3 separate regions of the Homo sapiens genome follow, and regions 1 and 3 are each linked to region 2. The links are contacts of gene promoters, found by promoter capture Hi-C in blood cells and fetal thymus (Javierre and others, 2016). All regions are on one chromosome and are shown on one strand. Each heading gives the region's core, a stretch centred on a gene start or on the middle of the fragment in contact. The rest is flanking DNA. Distances are from core to core; before and after follow the strand shown.

What was found. The method cuts DNA at HindIII sites, captures the fragments that hold promoters and counts their contacts. A CHiCAGO score of 5 or more calls a contact.
Region 1: a contact is called between a fragment that was not itself captured here and the fragment with the promoter of SDE2 in region 2, in 1 of 17 cell types (neutrophils). The highest score is 5.9, in neutrophils.
Region 3: a fragment that was not itself captured here is called in contact with the fragment with the promoter of SDE2 in region 2 in 3 of 17 cell types (neutrophils, total CD4 T cells and naive CD4 T cells); the score reaches 11.5 in neutrophils.

The regions. Positions count from the first base shown.
Region 1 is chr1:225,379,224-225,382,915 of GRCh38, forward strand. It overlaps DNAH14 (dynein axonemal heavy chain 14), which reads left to right. Exons shown (of 86, transcript NM_001367479.1): 80 at 936-1,099; 81 at 2,160-2,356. Among named protein-coding and RNA genes, the nearest start is that of LBR, 47 kb to the right of the region's middle. The HindIII fragment of the contact is 938 bases long and covers 1,869-2,806 here.
Region 2 is chr1:225,998,059-226,002,163 of GRCh38, forward strand. It overlaps SDE2 (spliceosome associated SDE2), which reads right to left and starts at 1,285. Exons shown (of 7, transcript NM_152608.4): 1 at 1,135-1,285. The coding sequence starts at 1,254. RefSeq lists enhancers at 1,140-1,249, 1,770-1,919, 1,940-2,039, 2,120-2,169 and a silencer at 1,310-1,589. The HindIII fragment of the contact is 16,010 bases long and covers 476-4,105 here.
Region 3 is chr1:225,404,975-225,408,980 of GRCh38, forward strand. It overlaps LBR (lamin B receptor), which reads right to left. Exons shown (of 14, transcript NM_002296.4): 11 at 1,690-1,858. Among named protein-coding and RNA genes, the nearest start is that of LBR, 21 kb to the right of the region's middle. The HindIII fragment of the contact is 4,055 bases long and covers 1-3,711 here.

The sequences.
Region 1 (3,692 bases), core at 1,088-3,587, 620 kb before region 2:
GTTGCCTCCTCTTTTTCATTGTCTTGCAGATGCATGCAGATGATTATTTTACAAAGAAATCCTAAAAAAGCTTTTATAATACATATTTCCTTGCAAATGTCTAAAGTACATTGGACAGTTTCTCATCTACAAAATGAAATGAATTCCATGGTCTCTGTAAGATCATCCATAGCATAATTTTGTGGTTCTGTGAAGATACATTTATCTTCAGACGGAACTTAAGCAGAGGACCCTCTAACATTAGATAGATCTGTAGCTTGTTTTTCTCTTGATTTCTTTTATTTTATTTTCCTTTCCTTTTCTTTTTTTAAATTTTTTTTTTGAGATAGAGTCTCGCTCTGTCACCCAGGCTGGAGTGCAGTGGCATAATCTTGGCTCACTGCAACCTCTGCCTCCCGGGTTCAAGTGATTCTCGTGCCTCAGCCTCCTGAGTAGCTCAGACTACAGGCGCCCACCATGCCTGGCTAACTTTTGTATTTTTAGTAGAGACAGGGTTTTACCATGTTGGCCAGGCTGGTCTCAAACTCCTGACCTCAAGTGATCTGTCTGCCTCGGCCTCCCAAATTGCAGGGATTACAGGCATGAGCCACTGTGCCCAGCCAATTTTTATTTTTTTAATTGACATAATAATTGTACATATTTCTGAGGTACATAGTAATGTTTCAATACATACAATGTATAGTGATCAGATCAGGGCAATTCATATGTCCATCATCTCAAACATTTATCCTTTGTGTTGGGAACTTTCAGTATCCTCTCTTCTAGCTATTTGAAGATGTATAATCTATTTTTGTTACCTATACTCATCCTACAGTGGTATAGAACACTAAACATATTCCTCCTGTCTACCAGTAATCTTGAATCCTTTAACAAATCTCTCCCCATCTCCCCACTTCCTGTTCTGTGTCTCATTCTTCTCTTGGTTTTTTTTGCAGACCTGAGCAGAGTAAGGATGAACTGGTGATGGAAATTCTATCCGACTTGCTAAAGCGGCTGCCACTGACAGTGGAGAAAGAAGAAATTGCTGTTGGAACTCCAAGCACATTGAAGAGCATGATGTCAAGCTCCATTTGGGAGTCTCTTTCTAAAAATCTCAAAGGTGAGCATGGGACAGGAGCTTTTTCCCCTTACCTCACTCTCCTCAAGAAAGGACTCTGGTGTCAGGAGTAAGGTAAAGATAAGACAAAAATTCTGTAGAAGTGAAAATACTGAGATAAGATGGAAAACTCAGTCTCTGCCTCCTCTCTCCAAGTTGAAAGACAGAGAGCACAGAAGAAAATCACGCTTTAGTTTGGGGGTGGGTAGCGTGTGGCACTGAAATCAAAAGTGAAGAAATAACAAGTGTAGCAAACTAGAAAGCAGCAACTCTGCTTTGGAGATTGTCAAGAGTTCTAGGTGCCTGTTCTCTCTGCCTCTCTGCCTTCTGGAACAGCGGAAGTTTAGATGGACCTTCTGCTGAAAGACCACTTGACTCCAAGAAGCTAAGGGGAATCAGGGCAGGCCCAGGAAGACAGAGGAAGCCTGATTGCCCAGAGATGACTCCAAACCCAGCTCTAAGTGGCTAAATTGCTAGACTATGATAATTTTCCCAGTTAAATTTTAATACCCATATTTTATCCCTTTGCAGAAGTTTATTTGGGAACCAAATATTGAGCAATAGTTTATCAAAACAGTGTCATTGTTGAGTCTCAATCAAAGGTCAGCAAATTAGGGCTCGCAGGCCAAATCCAGCCCACCATTTGTTTTTGTACAGCCTGTGAACTAAAATGGCTTTTGCATTTTTTAATGGTTAAAAAAAATCAAAAGAAGGAATATAGTTTGTGACACATAAATGTTATATGAAACTCCAATTTGAGTGCCATAAGTAAAGCTTTACTGGAACACAGCCACACTTACTCATGACATATTGTCTATGCATCCACACATAGTAGATAGTGTGGCCGCACCCACACTACAAGGGGAGAGCTGAGTAGCTTTCACAGAGGTGGTGTGGTCCCCATACCCTAAAATGTTTGCTATCTGACCTTCTACAGAAAATGTTTATCAACCCCTGGTCAAGACACACAAAATTCCCTTAACTTTCAAAGCCTAAGTCCCTCCATGTAAAGCCTCTTTTTAATCTGTAAAATATCAAAATTTTATTTCTTTTTAAAATCCAGATCACGACCCCCTTATCCATTGTGTCTTGCTAACCTTTTTGAAGCAAGAAATTAAACGATTTGATAAGTTATTATTTGTCATACATAAATCCTTAAAAGATCTTCAGCTTGCTATAAAAGGAGAGATCATCCTCACCCAAGAATTGGAGGAAATATTTAACTCTTTTCTTAATATGAGAGTGCCTACATTGTGGCAGGTAAGCAATTATTATTATTTCCTATTTTCTTGCTTGCTTGAAATAAATGTCCAAGTTCAAGGGAATGGTGAAGGTAAATGGTGCATCTGTGTGATGAAATATGTAACTCTTAAAAGATGCTGACGTACTTTTTCATATTTTCACATCTCTGAAGTTGGAATGCCTCTTAACAGTCACTGTTAGCCAGGCAGCACCATCACTTAGTTCTCACTATCTGTGTATGTGAACTATGTATCATGGCAGTTCATGTCAAAGTAGGTGCACTCTTGGTATTACTATAAGTGTTGAGTTTAATTGCTTTTAAAATAAAAACAAAGCTAAACAAGATGATGAAGAAATTACTGGGTCATGGTCTTAAACAGAAGACCAAATTGTAAAAACACAAAATGTATTAGACCAGGAATAAAATAAGCCATGGAAGATCTGGCAGCACAGAGTAGGAAATTAACAAGCTTGATGTTGGACACAAACACTATTTCTCCAGAAATGAACTTCTCCCCTTAGGATTAGCACTGGCCTTTTCCAGAACCCTGAATCCTATACCAGATTGAAAACCTGTGTAGACATGTGAAAAGATGTTCAACAGCATTTGCTTTGAGGGAAATGCAAATCAAAACCACAATGAGATACAACTTCACACCTACTAAGATGGAAAGAATTAAAAATACATAAAAACAAGCATTGGGAGAAATTGGAACCCAAATGCACCACTCATGGGAATGAAAAATGGTGCAGCTACTTTGGAAATAGTCCAGTAGTTCCTCAAAAAGTTAAACAGATTTACCATTTGACCCAGCAATTTCACTCCTAGGAATATATCCAACAGAAATTAAAGCATAAATCCAGGCCGGGCACAGGGCCTCATGCTTGTAATCTCAGCACTTTTGGAGGCCAAGGTGGCGGATCACCTGAGGTTAGGAGTTTGAGACCAGCCTGGCAAACATGGTGAAACCCCGTCTCTACTAAAAATAATAATAATAATAAAATGGCCAGGCATGGTGGTGGGTACCTGAAATCCCAGCTACTTGTGAGGCTAAGGGAGGAGAATTGCTTGAACCCAGAAGGCAGAGGTTGCAGTGAACTGAGATCATGCCATTGCACTCCAGCCTGGGCAACAGAGGGACACTCTGTCTCAAAAAAAAAAAAAGTCCACCCAAAAACTTGCACATGAATGTTCATGGCAGCATTATTTGTAATACCCAAAAGGTGAAAACAACTCAAATGTCCATTGACTGATGAATGGATAAAATATGGTATGTCCCTGTAATGAAATATTATTCAGCCAGCAAAATGAATGAAGTACTGATACAGGCTATCACATGGATAAACCTTGAAA
Region 2 (4,105 bases), core at 35-2,534:
CGGAGGTTGCAGTGGGCCGAGATCACGCCATTGCACTCCAGCCCGGGCAACGGGAGTCAAACTCCGTCGGGGGTGGGGGAGGGGGAGAAAAGAACACTGTACTCATGAAATAAGAATTATTTTCAAAGGAATTAGAATGCAATTATTTTCATGGTCAAAAACAGTTGTGCTTACAGTTTTTAGACTGGATTACAGAGCAGGAAGGAAAACATGGAAAGTGAAAAACCGTATTATTTGCAAACACACATTGCTTCTTCACGGAATCGATCCAAGTCTCTTAAAATTTTGGTCTAGACTGCAGTGTTAACATTTGTTAAGCTTATAAATAGTAAGCAGAGGAAATAGCCGAGGAAAGCACGGATGAGGTGCGGAAAGAACAGAGTTCTAGATCAAGTGCCAACATTAAAATTAGATTCAGGGAAACCACTAAATTCTTTTGACAACTGAACAGGTTTAATATCTTATAGCTGGTAAAAGCTTACTTACTTGAAAGTTCAGTAAAAGCTCACGTGTAACTCTGGAAGTCCCTGGTAGGTTTTCACAAATATGCACGGACAAATGAGACCATCAAATTAATAGTGAACACTTCTACGTAACAGGCCCTAAGAACCCAGGCCCTCAACAGGACACACGTGTGAATGCTTGGTCACAACGACTGACCAGAAGAATCAATTTTCCTTCCCAATCATCCTTTGGCCTGGGTTTGGATATGACATACTTCTCTAGGCTGGGGCTAACAAGGCTGTGTGATGAGTGGACAAAATACACGTCACATAACCATAGTAAGAAGGTGAAGACTGGAGCCTTAAAAATCAGCCGGCCCAACTGCCAGAAGACCATTATATTTACGGATAAAGAAAGAGAAACAAAGTATTTGTAACTGTGAGCGGGACTAAGTGCCTGTAACAGTTTTTTTCTCCCTCTTGGTGGGAAGGCAAAACCACCACCACAAAAGAAAAGCAAAGGAAGGTCTCAGTAACAATTCGAAGCACCTTAACACTGAGGAACTCTCAGCCTCAACGAGTGAAAACCCCAGAGAATAAACGTACCCCCGCCCCGGACAGACCTACTCCGCACCCAGCGCTGCCACCTGTCTGCCTCTTTCTCCTTCCTAACAGGAACCGAAATCCTCACCTGATCTTGGCAGTGCCGGTGGATAAAATCCCGGACGGTGCACCGACCCGAGGCACACCGCACCGCCTTGCACCCGAAGCCAGGGCCGCGAATCCACACCAGCGCCGCGGCCTCCGCCATGTCACCGACTACCCGAACCTCAAGCCTCTCTGAGACACCAGGCGCCGCAACTCGCCCGGCGCCTCTTGATGACGCGAGCATCTTCCAACGCCCCGCCCCTCACGCTTCCGTTCACCCCTCCCCTCCCCTGGGGCGGGTCAAGTGAGCCGGGCGGCGGGGCGGTGCGGGCTGGGGGAGGGGAACAGGAAAGGCCTGGCGGAGGCAGATAAGGCGGCAGAGCACGGGGCGAGGCGTTGCTAGGAGAAGTTGCTAGGGCGGGGCTCGAGGGACCGGCTATAAAAGGCTGGCGCTGGGTTAGGTTTCGAGCTTCCTGGCCGTAAGCGATAAGGCTTTAACTGAGAACCACCTTGTGCTGTAGGCTTTGGCCCTTTTCCTCACATCTGTGTAGTTATTTTTGGGTCGCGGAGAATTGTGGCCCGAGAAGGCTCTGCTCCTTGAGAGTGTGGGGAGAGAAGCTGCAGTCCCGGAAGCGGTTTTAGGGGGCCGCTTCCTTGGCCTAGAGGAGCTCCCCAACCCGAGGGGGCAAGGGAAACGACCCCCAGGAGGCCCCTAAACAGTGGCCGGCGTGGTTTCTCCTCCAGCTTTACAGAGCCTTCTCTTCCCCTCCAGAAACAGCCAACCTCCGGGTTTCTGCCTGCCACGCACGGTTTATTCTTATTTCCGCCTGTTTGTGCACTGCGTTATCTCCACTTCAGCTCTGTTTTCAAAATATTTCACAGCAAGTGGGCTCTTGTGAAAGGCAGTGACAGGAGTGACGTTTATAGTCATGCTGCTTCAAAAAACCCTACCATAACTTTTATTCTGCACCATGGAAACACACTCGGACAGATTTGCATAACGTAACCTTAAGGCTCAGGGAATCCGAAAGAGTCCCTTAATATTTAACAGAATGAGATTATGGTATTTCTAAAACCCTGAACAATTCAAAAGCCACCAGTGTGAAGATAGGAAGGTTATTTGGAGATATCTGTGCCTGCTAAACACAAATGCATCGGCCCACAGAATTGCCTTCTCTGCTGTTAAAATGCTTGGCAAATGGAACTCCTAGCTGAGGGGGTAACAACAAAAAATTCAGAAATCGTTTAGCGGTGGCAGTATGTGCGAAAATGGAATTTCAAGGCCTGGGAAGTTAATAGATTCAGTGGTCTTTATTTCACACACGAGGGAAAGTTGGGGAGAGAAAGGGCCTCCATGGGGATGCCAGTAGATAAATAAAAATTACAAAAAAAAAAATAATAAAGATAGATTGTACTGGCCGGGCGCGGTGGCTCATGCCTGTAATCCAGCACTTTGGGAGACTGAGGCGGGCGGATCTCGAGGTCAGGAGTTCGAAACCAGCCTCACCAACATGGTGAAACCCCATCTCTACTAAAAATACAATAATTAGCCGGGCGTGGTGGTGCGCGTCTGTAATCCCAGCTATTCAGGAGGCTGAGGCAGGAGAATCGCTTGAACCCGGGAGGCAGAGGTTGCAGTGAGCTGAGATCGTGCCATCGCACTCCAGCCTGGGCGACAGAGAGAGTCTCCGTTTCAGAAAAAAAAGATATATTGTACCTAGGAAGCAGTATTTCGGAAAGGTGGTGCCATGGCAACCCTGGGGCGTGAAGGTGTCGCCAGGTTACATGTAAGCCGTCCAAACTCCAGAAACCTCAAGTCCCTCTGCAGTCTGCTCCCCAGCTCTCTGTCCTCCAGGTTCCTGAAAAAGTAATCTACAGATCTGAGCCTTAAGCCTCTTCTTTTTTTATTTGTGATTTCTTCCTTCTGGTGATCAAAAATGACTATTTCAAATAAATAAATAATTTTTTTAAATGACCATTTCAAAGGTCTGAGATCCTACAAGTAACTGTATAAAGGTCAGTTTGGGTTTCCAAAACATTTTTTGTGTCGGGATAATGCTTCGTGTCTTGTGAGGAATTATTATGATTAGTCTTTTTTTTCTTTCTTTCTTTCTTTTTTGAGACACTCGCTCTGCCACCTGGGCTGGAGTGTAGTGGCGCAATCATAGCACACGCAGCCTTGAACTCCTGGGCTCAAGTGATCTGCCACAGACTCCAGATGGATTACAGGTGCATGCCACCACACCTGGCTAATTTTTAAATTTTTTGTAAAGACGAGTTTTTCGCTAAGTTGCCCAGGCTGGTCTTGAACTCTTGGGCTCAAAAGATCCTCCCGCCTCAGCCTCCCAAAGTGCTGGGATTACAGGCGTGACCTGCCGTGCCTGGCATAAGTAGTACTTTCCAGTAAGGAAACTCCACATCATTTATTACTAACATTATATTTAGTCCTCATAAAACCTGATGTCTGAATGGAATTTTTCGCTTTTTATCCCTCTGTTGCATTTAAATTCCTATTATTTAAAGAATCCCAAGTATTGAATAGGTATTTGTCATTTAAAATATGAAATAACCATTGATATTAGCTTTTGAAAGACACAAATTTCCAAGTAATATATAATTTGTTGTTAAAACTTCAAAATGAGCGTGTAGTACCATGACATGTACAGAGTAGATATTAAGTAAATATTAGTTGGATACTTGATGGATTACTAAGGTAGAAGTTAATTATTCTCAATGTACATATGATGAAATATATTTTGCACTAATATAACAATCTATTGTAAGGATGCAGAATTTAACTTGGATTGCTATTAAATTCCTTTAAAGAATGAGGAAATTGAAGCATGTAAAGTTAGGGCTATGGCCAAGAACACAGTGCACATCAGTGAAAAAAAAAAAATCTAGAAAGACAGCTATTAGCTGGGTTACTATGGGTGTGTGGTAGCTTCCAGTTGACAGTGCTATGTGGCGGGGCTGATCAGTGATTATGGAAAAGAGCCAACTGCTGCTACCTT
Region 3 (4,006 bases), core at 434-2,933, 590 kb before region 2:
CTACTTTAATCATCCACCTAGGAAACGCTCTGAAGGCAAAACAAATATAGTTACATCCATGAAAGAGATAAAATCTAAGATAGCCTACATTACAATAAAATCAATACTAGAGTTCAGTGTAATCAAAATTACAAGCTATATCATCTGTTAGTTATACCTACTGGCCATGGCACAAACATTTTATTATCAAACACTAGCTTAGAATCAGCACCAAAACATCCTGCACTTTAAATACATGCTGAATCCCACTTTAAGTCTATAAGTTCCTAATTTTATCCAAATTTCAGAATGTCAAAAATCAATCTATCACTGACATTTAACTATTATATAGTCGATCCTCAATAAACTAGTAAGAGAATAACTTTACTTCCTGCTTTGGTTTGAATGTGTTCTCCAAAGTTCACGTGTTGGAAACGTAATCCTCAATGCAACAGTGTGGAGAGGTAGCACCTTTAAGAGATGATTAGGTCATGAGGGTTCTGCCCTCATGGACAGATTAATGTGGCTATCACAGGAGTGGGCTCAGTATCTCGAGTGGGTTTGTTATAAAAGTATGTTCAGCCCCTCTTGCTCTTCCTCACTCTCTCTTGCCCTCCCTCACTCTCTCTTGTCCTTCCACCTTCCACCCTGGGATGCTGCAGCAGAAGGGGTCTTGCCAGATTCCAGCACCATGCTCTTTGACTTCCTGGCCTCCAGAACCATGAGCCAAATAAATTTCATGACAAATTACCTAGTCTCAGCTATTCTGTTCGAGCAGCACAAAACAAACTAAGACATTCCCCATTTTTAGCTGAACTATAAAATACACTGTCTTGAATAATAAAATGGATGACATGGACATCCAAACCACTGGTGAAACTAAATCTTAATTTTAACCAATGGTTTGAACTTCTTCTACCACAGATACTAACTTGTGTAGCAAAACTATCTGTATTTGCAGTTCACTGCTAATTTTCCCTGCCCAACCTCTAGTATAAGTGTTTAGTGAACAGTGTAAGAACAATGAAAATTCATCCTGAAGTAAAATCCATGACTGACCCTGGTGGACCGCAGCTGCAGCCAAACTGGACTTCTCAGTCTTTCCCAACCTCATCTCACACTTCCCCACCACACACCCTTGCTGAGCTGTTCCCAGTGCCTGACTTTTCGATCTCCCCATCCCATTTTCCCCTCTAAAACTCCAATCGAACACCATATCCTCCGATAAGTTCACACTAACGCTCCCCAGAGAGAAGTTCTCTCTATCTTTAACACCCGTCATCTAAGCCCCTCTTAGTGCTCACTCACACACCTCACAGCAAGGCAGGAATGTCTTATTTCTCCTGTTAGAATGTGAGCTCTATGAAGGCAAGACAAATCTTCTTACTTTATAAGATGCCTACCAGAAAAAGCAGGCACTCAAGAGAAAAGACGTATGGTTACCAAAACGAATTAAAACAACTTAAATTTATTAAATTTAAAAGCAAGATGGTTTAAAATAATCTGTTTCAAGTACTACTGAGAACCCAAGTACGAACCATCCATTCTCTTTGCAAAATGCAGATTTTTTATTACTCATGATAAATGGCTTCAAACTGAGCTAATGCTGGCCATTCAAAATGGCATGTTTCAAGTATGTAGACAGCAGGGCATAAAAGCCTCAGTACATAATATTTAATAAATTAAACTGAGACTAAAATTAATACTCACGTTTCAGAACAATAATTAGAGAAGCCATTGGCCAAGACACTTCATTTGGATGACTGACTAAATAAAAGGCTTGGAAGCTGTAAATAAAGGGAACCCACACCAAGTCTCCAAAAGCCAGCATGAATCCAAATCCATCGTGGATGATGTCCATGGTCGTCAACAACGCTTCCTATAAGGATACAGACGGGGAAAGGGAGAAGGAGCTTCTGTGTTTAAAGTATTCAAATAAAGTACTAGTTTACAGGCAAATGTAAAAAGTGCTATGGGCGGGTCCACAATCAACATTTTTTTGTTAAAGGGGAGAGAGATCTGGTTCCCCTGGCCTGCTAGGTCTTTCTGCTGTCACATTCTCCCGTCACGCCAGCCTCTCGCTCATGCTCTGGAGATAACAGATCTCTAAAGCATCTCCCATGCCCCCATGCCCAGGCCCTCCCCTCTGCTGACAACCCCTCCTCCAACCTCCACATAGGCCCTACACCCTCTGCTGCCCTCCTGACCTGCTGCTCAGACCTGGGCACTTCTCAGATATCACCACCCACCAGTAGGCTGCAGTAATTGGGTTACTGTACTTGTCTAGTCACTCTTCACTACACTAAAAGCCTCTAAAAGACAGAGGCTGTGTGTTTTCACCTTTGCCACCCCAGTACCTAGCACAGTGCCCGCCATGGAGAGAAGTGTTCAAAATATGCTTGCTGAAGGAATAAGATCACCAACTCTTTTTGTTTCAATTCCACATGGACCAATCTAATTTCTGTTCATAATCTGGCATTTCATGTGCATTTTCCACAGAAGAAATTAAGCTGCCTGGCAACATGGTGAACTGACAGCTTCGCTTCTCATGTAAATTAATAAAAGTGCATTACTCCCTGGTGATTTGGTTAGCATGAGCCAGATCGCCTCTGGCCCAGGATACGGGCAGGCCAGACTCTAGAATACGGAACCACCACCAAGGTCAACACTCTGAAGGTCTGGCCTAAGGGAATCTCTAAACTACCCAGAACCTCAGTACAGACCACTGATGTAGAAATATTAGCCAGTATAAGCTCTGTTGGAGAATCAAAGTTCTAGGTTAAAGAAAAAGAGTGGTACCTCTAAATAGCATTTTTTTCCAGAAAAGAAAGCAAATAGGCCATGGAACAGAAAAACAGATGTCACATGAAACAGAAAAACCAATCTCACAAAATCTAGCTCCTTAGGCTTATACTCTTTAGTTAACCAGAGTACTTTATTCTCTTTAAAAAAAAAAATTGACATGTAATAATCGTACATATTTATGGGGTACACAGTGATGTTGCAATACATGTAATATATAGTAATCCAATCAAGGTAATTAGCATATCCATCATCTCAAACACATTCTTTCTTTGTGTTAGGAATATTCAATATCCTTCTAGCTATTTGAAACTATGTATCACTGTTAACTATAGTCATCCTACAGTGGTATAGAATACTAGAACTTAGAACTTACTCCTCCTATCGAGTGGTAATTTTGTATCCTTTAACAAACCTCTCCCTATCCTTCCCTTCCCCCTACCCTTCCCACCTTCCCATATCCTCTGTTCTACTTTATACTTCTATGACATCAACTTTTTTAGCGCCCACATATAAGTGAGGACACACGGTGTTTTAACTTTCTGTCCCCAAGAGTGTCTTATTCTTCTCTCTCAAGGCCTGTGATCTGATTCCTGGTCCAAAAGAGGATAAAGGTGACAAATTGGTGGGAGCAGATAAAAGCAGGTGTGGTGAGTGGCAGTGAGAGGGCAAAGGGTAAGCACCCAATGCCGGGTAGGGGGAGGACCTTAGCCCCACCAGCTCCTGAGCCCCAAGGCTTTCACAGGACGGCTCAGAGGAAGGGTCATGCATATTTAAACAGGTAGTCTCAGTTTTCTTAAGGTATAGCACATTCTTGAATACAGAGGGATTTCTATCAAGTGACCTGACAGAAGTTATTAAGCATCTGCTAATTGCCCAGTGGCATGCCAGAATGCTGAAGAAATCATAAAATACAATCTTTCCTCAAGAAGCTTATTATCATCTGGCTGAGATACTGAGAACAGACAGAAAACAATTTCCTAACTCTAGTTCTCTACCCCTGGGGCTATGTTAATATTGCATTAAGCGTTTTGCCTTAAGATGCAAAAAATTTTCTTTTAACACAAGTCAATGTTTGGCTAAATCTATAGAAAATATCAACTTCTAAGCCAATTAAAAAGTGACAACCACAACATGGCAGAAAGCTAGTAATAGAAGAAACCAGAAGAAATAATCACTGATCAGTGGAAAGCTACTAGAAAGGAAGGTTTAAAGAAGCCTCTGA